Regions from separate parts of the Homo sapiens genome. Here region 1 is linked to region 2. The links are contacts of gene promoters, found by promoter capture Hi-C in blood cells and fetal thymus (Javierre and others, 2016). All regions are on one chromosome and are shown on one strand. Each heading gives the region's core, a stretch centred on a gene start or on the middle of the fragment in contact. The rest is flanking DNA. Distances are from core to core; before and after follow the strand shown. Region 1 overlaps PIK3CA-DT (PIK3CA divergent transcript). Region 2 holds the start of GNB4 (G protein subunit beta 4).

Region 1 (7,557 bases), core at 3,783-6,282, 310 kb before region 2:
ACCATAAATGTAAAAATCCACAATAAAATACTAGCAAACCAAACCTAGCAGCACATCAAAAAGCTAATCCACCACAATCAAGTAGGCTTTATTTCTGCGATACAGAGTGTGGTTCAACATATGCAAATCAATAAAAGTGATTCATCTCATAAACAGAAACAAAAACTACATGAACATCTCAACAGATGCAGAAAAGGCTTTTGATAAAATTCAAATCCCTTCATATTAAAAACCCTCAACAAACTAGACACCAAAGATACATATCCTAAAATAATAGGAGATATCTATGACAAACCCACAGCCAATATCATACTGAATGGGCAAAAGCTGGAACTATTCTCCTTGAGAACTGGAATAAGACAAAAATGCCCATTCCCACACTCCTATTCAACATATCACTAGAAGTCGTAGCCAGAGCAATCAGACAAGAGAAAGAAATAAAAGGCATCCAAACAGGAAGAGAGGAAGTCAAACTCTCTCTCTTCATGGATGATGTGACTCTATACCCAAAAAACCCCATAGTCTCTGCCCAAAGGCTTCTAGATCTGATGAACAATGTCAGCAAAGTTTTAGGATACAAAATCAATGTACAAACATCAGTACCATTTCTATACACCAATAACATCCAAGCTGAGAGACAAATCAAGAGTGAAATCCTATTCACAACAGCAACAAAAAGGAATTGGAATACAGATAACCAGGGAGGTGAAAGAGCTCTACAGTGAGAATTACAAAACACTGTTGAAAAAAATCAGAGGTGACACAAACAAATGAAAAAAATTCTACGCTCATGAATAGGAAGAATCAGTATTTTAAAAATGGTCATACTGCCCACAACTATTTACAGATTCAATGCTAATCCTGTCAAACTACCAATGACATTTTTTAGAGAATTAGAAAAAAACATTCTAAAATTCATTTGGAACCAAAAAAGAGCCCAAATACCCAAAGCAATCCTAAGCAAAAAGCACAAAGCCAGAAGCATCACACTATCTGACTTCAAACTATACTATAAAGATAGAGTAACCAGGCACAGCGAGGGGGCTCACGCTGGTAATCCCAGCACTTTGGGAAGCCAAGGTGGGTGGATCACAAGGTCAGGAGTTCAAGCCCAGCCTGGCCAACATAGTAAAACCCCGTCTCTACTAAAAATACAAAAAAAAAAAAAAAAAAATTAGGCAGGCGTGGTGGCAGACACCTGTAATCCCAGCTACTTGGGAGGCTGAGGCAGGAGAATGGCGTGAACCTGGGAGGCAGAAGTTGCAGTAAGCTGAGATCTTGACATTGCACTCCAGCCTAGGCAACACAGCGAGACTCCATCTCAAAAAAAAAAAAAAAAAAAAGTTACCAAAACAGCATGGTACTGATACAAAAACAGACACATAGACCAATGGAACAGAATACAGAGCCCAGAAATAAAGCCATATATCTATAACCACCTTATCTTCAACAAAGTTGCAAAAACAAGCAATGGGGAAAGGACTCCCTATTTAATAAATGCTGCTGGGATAACTGGCTAGTCACATGCAGAAGATTAAAATTAAACCTGTAACTTTCACCATATACAAAAATCAACTCAAGATGCATTAAAGACTTAAATAGAGAACCTAAAACTATAAAGACCCTAGAAAAAAATCTAGGAAATACCATTCTGGACATTGGCCCAGGCAAAGATTTCATGACAAAGATGCCAAAAGCAATTGCAACAAAAACGAAAATTGAAAAATGAGACCGAATTAAATGAAAGAGCTTCTGCACAGCAAGAGAAACTACCAATAAAGCAAACAGACAATGTATACAGAATGGCAGAAAATATTTGCAAACTACACATCCAACAAAGTTCTAATATTCAGAATCTATAAGGAGCATAAACAAATCAACAAGCACAATACAAACAACCCCATTAAAAATGGGCAAAGGACATGAATAGACACTTCTCAAAAGAAGATAAACACACGGTCAACAAGCCTATGAAAAAATGCTCCATATCACTAATCATTAGGGAAATGCAAATTTAAAGCACAGTGAAATATCATCTCACACCAGTCAGAATGGCTATTATTAAAAAGTCAAAAAAATAACATATGCTGGCAAGGTTGTGGAGGAAAGGGAATACTTATACACTGGTAGTGGGAATGTAAATTAGTTCAGTCACTGTGGAAAGCAGTCTGGAGATTTCTGAAAGAACTTAAAATAGAACTACCATTTGACCCAGCAATTTCATTACTGGGTATACATCCAAAGAAATATAAATCATTTACCATAAAGACACAGGTATGCGTATGTTTATCACAGCACTATTCACAATAGCAAAGACACAGAATCAACCTAGAAGCCCATCAACAGTGGACTGGATAAAGAAAATGTGGTATGCATACACCATGGAATACTACACAGTTATTAAAAAATGAGATCATGGCCTTTGCAACAACATGGATGGAGCTGGAAGCTGTCATCTTAAACGAGTTAATGCAGGAACAGAAAATCAAATACTGCATGTTTTTACTTATAAGTGGTAGCTAAACATTGAGTATACACGGACACAAAAAAGGGAACAATAGACACTGAAGCCTATGGGAGGGTGGAGGGTGGGAGGAAGGTGAGGACTGAAAACTACTTCTCGAGTATTATGAGATTACCTGGGTGACAAAATTATCTGTACACCAAACCCCCATGACACACAATTTACCCATGTAACAAACCTGCACATGTACCCCTTGAACCCAAAATAAGAGTCGGAAAGAAAAATGAAAAAGAAAATTCTAACTATAGCTCAGACTAACCCCTGAGTAGCAAGCACATCCACAGCGTAGGACCAAAGCAGCATAGGAAAGACATTAAAATCAAAACCGAGATTAGAATCACTTTCCACAGAAAGCAAGAGTACACTTAGTCACATGGATTTCCTACTAAAACAAACAAAAAATTAATATTATCCAGAGGATAACAGAACACATAATCAAATCAACATAATATTCAAATTTTCCAATATACAATCCAAAATGACTCGACATATTAAAAAAAAAAACAGGAAAATGTGTCCAATTCTCAAGGGAAAGGACGATCAGCAAATGCCAATCCTGAGTTGATCCAAATGTTGGAATTATCAGAGAAAGACTTTAACGTAGGTACTAACTATGGTCCCTGAGGTAAAGACCTAACTTGAAATGAACAGAAAGGTATAGGTACTCAGGAGAGGAACAGAAACCATTGAAAAAAGAGCCAATCAGAAAATGAAGAGTTAAAAAATACAATATCTAAGATTTTAAAAATATCTGGGGGAGCTCAATAGCAGAACAGACATGACAGAGACAAAAGTAAGTGAACTACAAGATATAGCAACAGAAAATATCCAGCATAGATAGATATGAGGAACAAGAGAGAGGAAAAAAGATTGGAAAAAAAAATGAACAGAGCCTTAGAGACATGTAGGACAATTTCAAAACAGCTAACATTCTTGTCACTGGATTCCCAGAAGAGAATAAAATAACTGGGGCAGAAAAATATTTGGAAAAAGTAATTTCTGAAAACTTCCCAAAATTAGTGAAATACATAATTTTACAAATTCAGGAACTAGACACACACAAACAGAAGAAATAAAACAATACCTCAGCATATCAGAATCAAACCATTTAAAACCTAAATTTTTAAACTTTTTTTTTTTCTTTTTGAGACGGAGTCTCGCTCTGTCACCCAGGCTGGAGTGCAGTGGCGCAATCCCGGCTCACTGCCAGCTCCGCCTCCCGGGTTCACGCCATTCTCCTGCCTCAACCTCCCGAGTAGCTGGGACTACAGGCGCCCGCCACCACACCCGGCTAATTTTTTGTATTGTTTAGTAGAGACGGGGTTTCACCATGTTAGCCAGGATGGTCTCGATCTCCTGACCTCGTGATCCACCCACCTCGGCCTCCCAACTAAATTTTTAAATCTTGATATAATCCAGAGAAAAAAGAAAAATTACGTATTGGGGGAAACTATTTGAATGACCACAGATGAGACCTGAAAATAGTCTTTTTTATGTTTTTTAAATTAATTTATTTATTTACTTATTGGAGACATGGTTTTGCTCTGTCGCCTAGGCTAGAGTGCAATGACATGCTCACAGCACACTGCAGCCTCAAACTCCTGGGCTCAGCGGATCCTCCCACCTCAGCAACAGCCACCCGAGTAGCTGGGGCTACAGATGCATGCCACTAGGACCGGCTAATTTTTTTGTATTATTTTGTAGAGACGGCGTTTCGCCCTGTTGCCCAGGTTGGTCTCAAACTGCTGGGCTCAAGTGATCCACCCACCTCAGCCTCCCAAAGTGCTGGGATTACAGGCGTGAGCCAACACACCTGGCTGAAAATAGTCTTTTACGAATTTCAAAGCTTTGATTTCTCCATAAGTGCACTCCTGGTAACTTGAGAACATTACACATTTGTCTCCTTTCTGTGGCCAGAATTGTTTTGTATTTCAAGTATGGAAAGGAGCTTTGCCAGAATCCTCCCGTGCTAAGTGTAAGTAGAGCAGTTAGACTTTAACATGGTTGTGTGATAGTAATGACATTCATATCTGACTCTAGGCAAGGCATGGCTGGAATGAAAAACATTGACTGTTAAGTGTTTTAAGGTGAACTTCTCAGATACTAGATCTCTTAGCTCACATAGTGGAATTTTGAGGAAAGTACAGGGTTTGCTCTTCATCTCCTAAGAAATGCAATGATGATTCTTTAAAGTACTGATGGGTCAGGGAGGGGAGAAAACCATTAACCGAGAATTGTATAATCAGCTAAAATATTTTGCAGAAATGAAGGCAAAAGTAAAATATTCTCAAATGAAGGAAAATGAAGGGAATTTGTCACAAGCAGACTTTCTCTAAAAAGAATGTTAAAATTCTTCAGGATAAAGGGAAATTATACCAGAAGGAAAAATGGATTTTCAGGAATGAAGCAAAACATAAATGTAAATGGATACGTAAATATAAAAGATTATTTTTCCTCTTGAGTTCTATATGACTGTTGAAAGCAAAAATTATAAAAACATCTGATGGGGCTTCCATATATATAAATGTAATACATATGCCAACTAATGACATAAAGGTCAGGGAGTGGGGTAGGAGACAGTGGTAAATCTACACGGTTGCAAGGCTTCTTTCTACATTTTACTTGAAGTGGTGTAATAGTAATACTAAGTAGACCGCAAAACTTTAGGTATGTATATTATAATCCATAGAATTACCAAAAAATTACCAAGAAATATATTAAAACTACAATATAGAAATTAAAATGGAATATTAAAAATTTTTCAAATAATCCACAAGAAAGCAGGAAAGTAGAAACATAAAAACAAAAGTATAGAGGAAAAACAGAAAACAAATAATAAAATGGCAAGCCTAAATCCATATAATTACATTAAATGTAAATTAAACACAGCAATTAAAACACAGAAATTGTCAGATTGGAATTTTTAAAAAGAGATCTAATACGTGTTGTCTACGAGTAACTCACTTTAAATATAAAAATAGATATAAAAAAGATGGGAAAAAATACCATGGAAAAATTAATCAAAAAAAGCTGGACTGGCTGTATTAATATCAGACAAAGTAGATTTCAGAACAAAGATATTACTAGGAATAAAGAGAGATAGTACAGATTGATTAAAAAGAGTCAATGTATCAAAACACAAGAGTTCTAAATGTGTATACATCTAACAACAAAGCTTCAAAACACACAAAGTAAAAATACACAGAAGTGAAATGAGAAATAAAGAAATCCACAATTATATTTTGAAACATCAATGCTAACAAAATCATCAACTTGGTAAGAAACTACATTCTGCCCAACAATAGCAAACAAAATATTCTTTCATAAGTGCACATGGGACATTCACCAAGATATTCTGGGGCAACACAAATCTTAACTTGAAAAGAACTGAAATCTTAAAAGTACGTGTGTGTATGTGTGTGTGGGTGTATGGTTTTTTTTTTTTTAAGATGGAGTCTCGGTCAGGCGTGGTGGCTCACACCTGTAATCTCAGCACTTTGGGAGGCCAAGGCGGGCGGATCATGAGGTCAGGAGTTCAAGACCAGCCTGACCAATATGGTGAAACCCCGTCTCTACTAAAAATACAAAAATTAGCCGGGCGTGGTGGCACGTGCCTGTAGTCCCAGCTACTCGGAAGGCTGAGGCAGGAGAATCACTTGAACCTGGGAGGCAGAGGTTGCAGTGAGCCAAGATCGCGCCACTGCACTCCAGCCTGGGTGACAGAGCGAGACTCCATCTCAAAAAAAAAAAAAAAAAAAAAAAAACAGTGCTACATGGTAACTCATATCGTTATCTCTTGGTGTGTTTTTATTGTTTGACTTGGCAATTTTATACATCTAAAGTATACTGCTACATAATCAACTTGACTCTTATTTACAAAGGACTTCAAAGCTTAGTAGTGACTTAAGCGCTATTAGAGAATGTTTCGGTGCATATTTGAGTATCAGTTATGATTTTCAATGGAAATAAACCCAAAAGGCAAGTAACTGTCATTATAATTCTGATTATTAGAATAGAACAATAGCTACATACTGGACATTTCACCTCCCGTCTTTAGAACCCTTAGGATGCAATTATTTAATTTTGAAGTATACCATTTTTTGTTTCATTTACAGCCTGAGAATCATTATTTTTTTAAAACCTTCTTTCAGCTCCTAATCCTTGAGTGATGAGTTTGGTCATATAGATGCTTATATCATACAGATATTTTTATATCATATAGATATTTTAAACACTGAATAACATTGCAAAAACCTTTGAAAGCAAGATGACACCTAAGACCAATGGCTTACATATAAGGCAAACATTATCAACCGTGAATTGAATAGTAAATGCTACTCCTGTACCAATGAATGGTGTCATGCATTCAAGTACCAGGTATGGCTTTTTCTGCTATGACACACAACTTCTTAGGGGCAGATAATCACATAACAAAAAACATATTATGTAATTAGCATTTTCTTATTAAAAAATAAATTTTAGGCTGGGCATGTCGGCTGAAGTCTGTAATCCCAACACTTTGGGAGGCCGAGGTAGATGAATCTCTTGAGCCCAGGAGTTGGAGACCAGTCTGGGCAACGAAGCAAGACCCTGTCTTTACAAAAAATAAAACATTTTTAAAAATCACAAATAGGCCAGGTGCGGTGGCTTACGCCTGTAATCCTAGCACTCTGGGAAGTCGAGGGGGGTGGATCACCTGAAGTCAGAAGTTTGAGACCAGCCTGACCAACATGGTGAAACCCCGTCTCTACTAAGAAATACAAAAATTAGCTGGCATGTTGGCTGGTGCCTGTAATCCCAGCTACTCGGGAGGCTGAGGCAGAAGAATCGCTTGAACCCGGGAGGCAGAGGCTGCAGTGAGCCGAGACTGCACCGCTGAACTCCAGCCTGGGCTACAGAGTGAGACTCTGGCTCAAAAAAATAATAATAATAAATAAATAATAAATTTTATAAGGAAAAATATCCCTAGTATATTTTTCCCCACCAAGGTCTACCTATTAATATCTCATATAACTCTGTGCTTGAAACACAAT
Region 2 (6,726 bases), core at 1,647-4,146:
TAATTTTATTTTTGAACATAAAAAAGACTAACAGTTTCCAAAACTCAAAACTATGCAAAAAAGTACATTCAGAACAAGGCCATTCCTTCTGTTGTTCCCATTTACTCAGTTCCTACCCGGTGCCTGTAGGTAACTAATTAGTTTCTGGTTCTCACTCCTGTATTTATTTTTTGTTCTGTCAAAAAACTACGCTTCCTCAAGGTGAGGTAGAGAAATGAGGCAGGGCCAGACGCCGTGGCTCACGCCTGTAATCCTAACACTTTGGGAGGCTGAGGTGGGTGGACTGCTTGAGCCCAAGAGTTCAAGACCAGCCTGGGCAACACAGCGAGATCCCGCTTCTATTTATAAAAATAAATAAATAAAAAGAAATGAGGCAGTCACTGAAGCAGAACACTGGATCAAGAAACCATTTTATTTTAAAATGGCAGACTGTACAATAATGTAAATGATTCTGTAGTAACTGACAAATTGAAGGTGCAGGAGAGAGTATGATAAATTGCAGAGGGAAATATCCATCAAAATATCCTCTAGTTTAATTTGAGGGATATCAAAGGGTTCTCATATCCCAAAATTGACCGCAATCCTGTTTGTAACCTTCCAAATTAGTTATAACTCTATCTCTAGAGAACCCACATTAAAATGGAGTTACTGTTTTATCAAGATAATTAAGCCATCACTACCTATTAATATCAATAGGATACACTGTGCCCTGGCAAAAGGGAGGTTTTGAACTTGGAACAAGACATTTAACTAGGAGTAGAGTGGTGAGAAGAGAATGGCTGATGTGAGAAGCTGTATAAAAACATGGGACAGACAATAATGATCATGCTGGAAAAACAAACATGCTTCTGGCATGTCTTGGATATTTTACACACATGCTAATGAGTAATTGAGGGTCACTCCTCATGCCCTCGAACTAAGTTAATATGGCTCAGGGGAAAGAACATGGACTTTGGAAACAGAGGGGTCTTGCTTCGAATCCCAGTTGAGTTACCTAACACCTACATGACCACTGCCAAGTTACTTAAAACCTCACAGACAATTTCCTTACCTGTGGAAGTAGATAATGGTGTTACTGTGAGATATAAGTAGAATAACTTACAGCACTGCCCCAGCCCAGAAGAGATATTTTAATAAATAAGTCCATAACAGACGCAGATTAAAATAGTCAGCAAGGTAAAGAAACTGATGATACAGCCAGCTGACTTCAATAACATGCCTAAGAGAAATCACACCATCTCAGGCAGTATTTGGTAAGGCCAGAAGAATGTCCAACACTTAGTTCCAATTCTTAATTTTCAAATTGCCCCAGAGTCTATTTTTAAAGTGTAAAAGTATGTGCTGACATACTTACATGCCAATTGTTTAAAAGAAACAATTCTACAGGTTAACAAAGGCCAAAGACTCGGAATAACTTCCTAAATAATGTTTATGGGCCCACAAAGAGTTGAACCAACCTAAAATATCACAAGCTGTATCAATCAGTTTTATAAATGTATATACAGAGGGTTGACAACGTTCAATAAGATGATATTTTAAAAGTTTCTATTTCAGTTTCAAATTCATCTACAAACCAAAATGCAACATGGAAAATCTTAAAATGTCTTTAAGCCACATACTGAAATATACAGTAAATTTTCAGAGCCTAGGATCAGTAGTAAACCAAAAGCCCCAAACTGAAGAGTATTAAAATGAACAATGGCAGAGACTCGAAGCACACAATTTTGAATGCACCTAATCAGCCGTCCTCCTCTCCGACTAGAAATAACTTCCCTCCCATCTTAAATTAAGTAGCGTGTGTTCTGTCTCTGTCCTAGAAGATGTACTTAATGGTCATAAACTCTGTTTGCAACACTGAGACGGACTCATAATAAAAGTTCTAATCAACAATTAAATTTTGAACGTTTTAAGAAAACTTCCCGCTAAGCCACACGCCAAGCTACTTTGTCGGTGGCTGAGAGGGAGAAAGATGCATCCTTATCCTTTATGGAAAGAGAAAGGGAAGGAGTGGGAGAAAAGGGAACACAAGGAGACGAAAAATAACAAAGTATTGCTTGTATAAACAAATGAAAGCCTGGTTTCAAACTTTTGAAAATTCAACGTTCCCTTAGCGAATAGCAATACATATCAAAGTATATGGCAATCATCTGTGTTCTGAAGCAGAAAAAGGTGGAGAGAAAAGCAAAACACTTTTTATTGTACTGAACTCACAAGTATTCAAAATTCATCAATCCCCTCCCATCCCCAAACTCTGGACATTATATCATTTCCAAAATAAATCTGAAACAAAACCATTGGACTAATTTTGGACTCAGCGTAGAACTTTTATGAGTCTTCCAAGCACTCTCCACCCAACAGCCCTGCTGGGCAGTCCCGAATACCCGTTATTTTGGGGGCACGCACGGGCTCGTGCTCTGAGTTCCTGGAAGGAGGCCTCGGGGAGTGACGAGAAACCAGGGGGGTCTGCAGGACTTGGACCGCCGACCGTTCCTCGCTCCCCGGGGCGAGCGGTCTGGACCGCCCGGGAAGTGCCTGCGCCGGCGGTCGTGGGGCCAGTTCCCGCGTGGCAGCTGGGCGCGACACAGGCGCGCCCTCCTCGTCCCTCCCGGGCAGCGTCGGCCGCCCGAGCCCGGGGAGACCCGCCCCGCCCCGCGCCGTCACCCGGGCCCCGTTCCGCAGGGGTGGCTCGCGGCGCCCCACGTCCCTGCGAGAAGCCCGGGATCGCTTCGCGGGGCGCACCGACGAGCCGCCGCTCGCGAGCTCGCCGCCTACCTGGAGGGAGCTCAGGCCCGCGTCGACCGCGCGCTGCCGGTGTCCGCTGGGCGCTCAGCAGCCCCTGGAGCGCGGAGCCGGCGTGGAGAGCGCAGCTCACAGCCGAGACCAGAGCCGCCGGCCACACCCAGTCCCGCACCTCCCAGCAGCCAACTCCGCGGCGCGCCGGAGCCGGGGCGGGGACGTGGCTGGAGGCGCGAGGCGCGAGGCACGAGGCGCGCGGGCCCGGCGGGGACGTGCCGGGGACGCGCAGACCCTCGGAGCGCGCGCAGCCCGGGCGGGGGGCGAAGGGAGCGGGCGCCGCGCGCAGCTTCTGCTTCCTATTTTCTCTCTCGTTTCCTGCCAGAAGGAGAAGAAAAACATTCATTCCCGGGCAGTTTCGTTTTCTTGTTGGTGTGGCGCCGGGGCACGCTGCTAAGTAGCGCCCGTCTAAGTGGCGTGGCCAGTTTCCTTTCCGGCGCTGACAGGCGCCAGTTTGCTTGTTAGCAGGATCGAAGGGCAGAGCTAGAAGACCCCAAAGGCCCCATTTAGGTTTCCCATTCTGGAATTCTAAATGTCAGAAAGTAAACTGAAGCCCAGAGTTGCACAACCTTGCGTTGCAGTCCCCGCTCTTCCATCACTAGTTGTAGGACCGTGTACCGTCTCGGGCCTAAGTTTCGTCATCGCCAAAATAAAGATACTGATACCTGCCTCATAAAGGTGCTAAGCATATTAAATGAAGTGATGTTTGCACGAAGCCTGCCTCCAAATAAATGGCCAATACTTGGAAGTTATTGTTCCTATTGTCATTGATAAAACTGGAAGGCCTTCCAGATATCCCTGCCAAGTCGCTCTTCTCTGCATGAGTTAAACACCACATGCATCTCAATCGAGTTTTTTTTTTTTTCACATTTATCTGGGTGTTTTATGTTTAAAATGTCATAAAATAAATGCATCTATCCAATTTGCTTCCTCTGAAGTCAGTACCGCCTGGGAGCATTTTTCCTCTCCCCACCCCCATTTTTCTTCTGAGTTAATTCCAGTTTGACAGACTGTTGCTATAGCATTCCTTCTCTGACGTCAAACAATTTAAAGAAACAGCCCTGGGTAGCGAAAACTGCAGAGGAGTTCTTTGTGGAGTTTCTGTGCCGGAGAAATGTTCGAACAATATCATCAGATAACTTTAACAACCCCTCAGCCTTCCAATCCTCCTTCTGTAGCTGCTTCCCACTATCACCTGGAATAAATCTATTAGTCCCTTGAAAGAGGTGATGCCATGATAAACACACCCTGTTTGTGACTGTGGGGAAAATGTGACCGTTTTGTATAAAAGCCAGGCCGTGACAAAAATAGAAGCAGCTGTTTCTATTTTCTTTATCCACAGATAAAGAAACTGTGGATAATTTTTCCCCCAAAATTTTCATTTTTACTAATATTAGGAGCATTTTTCCATTAAGAAGAAAGAAATGCCAAATATTCTGCATATCAAAGTGTCAGAAGAGCTCGTTGGGACATGAGTGTTTTGCATCTGTAACTATTTATGTTTTAATGATTAAATCCTGAGTTTTATGATTGTCGTTTTTCGGAGGAAGCAAAGGGAAATTGTTAAAGAGTGCCTATTACGGACCATGCTCTCTGCTTTCTTATACTGTACTTAATCCTCATAATTACCTTGAAGTGTGAATTTTATCCCCATTTTACAGATAAGCAAACTGATGCCCTGGTAAGATTAATTTATCGGAGTCACGAAGGTATTGGTAGAGCCCTGCATGACATCAGATTGGATCAACTCCAAAGCCCACATTCTTTCTTTTTTTTGTTTGTTTTTTTGTTTTGAGACGGAGTCACTGTGCAGTGATGTGATGTCAGCTCACTGCAACCTCCACCTCCAGGATTCAAGCGATTCTCGTGTCTCAGCCTCCCAAGTCTGGGATTACAGGCACAAGCCACCACGCCCGGCTGATTTTTTGTATTTTTAGTAGACACGGGGTTTCACCGTGTTGACCAGGCTGGTCTCAATCTGCTGACCTCAGGTGATCCGCCCACCTCGGCCTCCCAAAGTGCTGGAATTACAGGCGTGAGCCACCGATCCCGGCCCCATATTCTTTCTTTAGATTCTTTTCTGCCTTGTTCCTGTGCACTAGCATTTACCAGATGTTATAAAGCTTTGAGAGCTGGTTGTTGGGTTAAGATTATTTGTTGAAAAACAAGTTGCTGGTATTTAGGAAAACACAGTGGGAAGCAATGAGATAGTCTATTCCAGAAAAGATGAGGGGAAATATAAATGAACAGCTCCTAAACATAAAATACAAAACCTGAAAAGATGTAACAAGAATTTGACTGTCTTTTAAAGAGTTTAAAAGAATGATATCGTCAATCTTCCTGAAAATTTAATGTAGACAAAGAAATTACTAGAAGAATAAAGTCCAAGTACAGAAAAAGGAAAGTTTAATTATTATCCAAACGAATCTACTTCCAAGAATATTGTATTTCTGTTTTGCCATACCTGCTCCATATTGTTCTGGAAAAAAAAAAAAAAACTTACTTGTTAAAGGACAAGCCTATACTGAAAATCTGAAAGTGGAGCTGATTAAAAGAATTTTGTCATCAGGAATGATTTCATAAGAGCACACTAATGCATCTAAGTGATCCAGCAATTCATGATTTTTCCAATGATAATGAAATCCACGAAGAACAAAAGAGAGAGACTGGGAAGGGAGGCAGAGAGAAAGGTGAAGGGGTATGCTATTAACATTTCTGATGCCTGCTGGTTTGTGTAGACAATTGTAGAGATGTATCCTACTTCTGAGGATTAAGCCCCATGATCTTTTGTTTGGGTGCCACTGGCTGATAATTAGATTTCTAACTCATTAGGCCCATGTTCTCAAATCCTACTCTATTAAGAGAGCATAGTGGGGTCCCTACTAGAGAACCTTTGAAGACAAAATCCTTGTCCGTTTCATCTTTGTGTCTGCCATAGTGTTTAACAGAGCACCTTGCATTTGCTAGGTACTCCACGAACAAATAAATGAGTGAATGCACTTGGCTGCTTGTTTTATGCAAATAACCTGCATACCTCACCCCATCCCACACGCTAGTCAGAATCATAGGAGAGGAGAAAGTGGTCATTGCTTTTCTAGGAGTTTAGTTACAGTTTCTTTTGCAGGGTGTTTTGCTTCACTATGATCAAGTTCAGAGAAGCTCTGCTCTTGGTCCTACATTGGATGAATCTGAATGCTGTACTCAGTGAGCTACCCTGTAATCCATAGTGCCATAGGTTTGTATATCCTGCTTTTAAGTTTTACCCTAGAAATGGTCTATATTTTTTTCTGAGCCTACCTTGCTCTCAGACGATGCCAAGCACACCGTGAAGAACACAGCTATTAAAGTGTACAATATTTCAGTACCGCCCTGTATGTGTTGTATGCATTCCAATTCTATTGTGTTTGAAATGAGGCCAAATTATATACATACAACATCACAACTACCGTAACAGATTTTATTTCACCCACAACAAAATAAGTTATAAAATATTAAATGGAAATTATCTAACAGGATCTACAGCACAGTTTCCCAAGGACATGAGAAGCAATTCCCTAGTAGATTCTGTAAGAAGTCAGTCTATGTGTGGTTTCAGACAGACATCCTTGATACAGAGTAGTCATGCCTAAAGCCTTCCCTCTTGCTCACACACAATGCATTTTCCATATCAAAGTACAGTTTGTACTTTGAGTCACCTTTGCTGTACTCCTCTGACACTGGTGGTACAAATCAGTTATAGCTTTTGTTTATTTCCACTCAGGTTCTCGTTAACCATGGGAATTTGGAATCTGTCATCCAAGTGCATCCCAGTGACCTTAAGAGAGGGTCAATGATATCTGTCACAGGCATGGGAGAGGGAACTAGAAGCATGCAGGCATATATCTGCTGCTCTATGTCCTGTCATTCAGGTCCCTGGAATCAGGGAATTCAGGG

Evidence for each region. The method cuts DNA at HindIII sites, captures the fragments that hold promoters and counts their contacts. A CHiCAGO score of 5 or more calls a contact.
Region 1: a contact is called between a fragment that was not itself captured here and the fragment with the promoter of GNB4 in region 2, in 2 of 17 cell types (naive B cells and neutrophils). The highest score is 6.3, in naive B cells.

The regions. Positions count from the first base shown.
Region 1 is chr3:179,139,287-179,146,843 of GRCh38, forward strand. All of the region lies in intron 1 of PIK3CA-DT (PIK3CA divergent transcript), which reads right to left. Among named protein-coding and RNA genes, the nearest start is that of PIK3CA-DT, 4.9 kb to the right of the region's middle. The HindIII fragment of the contact is 1,329 bases long and covers 4,369-5,697 here.
Region 2 is chr3:179,448,574-179,455,299 of GRCh38, forward strand. GNB4 (G protein subunit beta 4) reads right to left here and starts at 2,897. Exons shown (of 10, transcript NM_021629.4): 1 at 2,773-2,897. It also overlaps the pseudogene RPL29P34. RefSeq lists silencers at 2,468-2,877, 2,918-3,067. The HindIII fragment of the contact is 16,902 bases long and covers 1-4,914 here.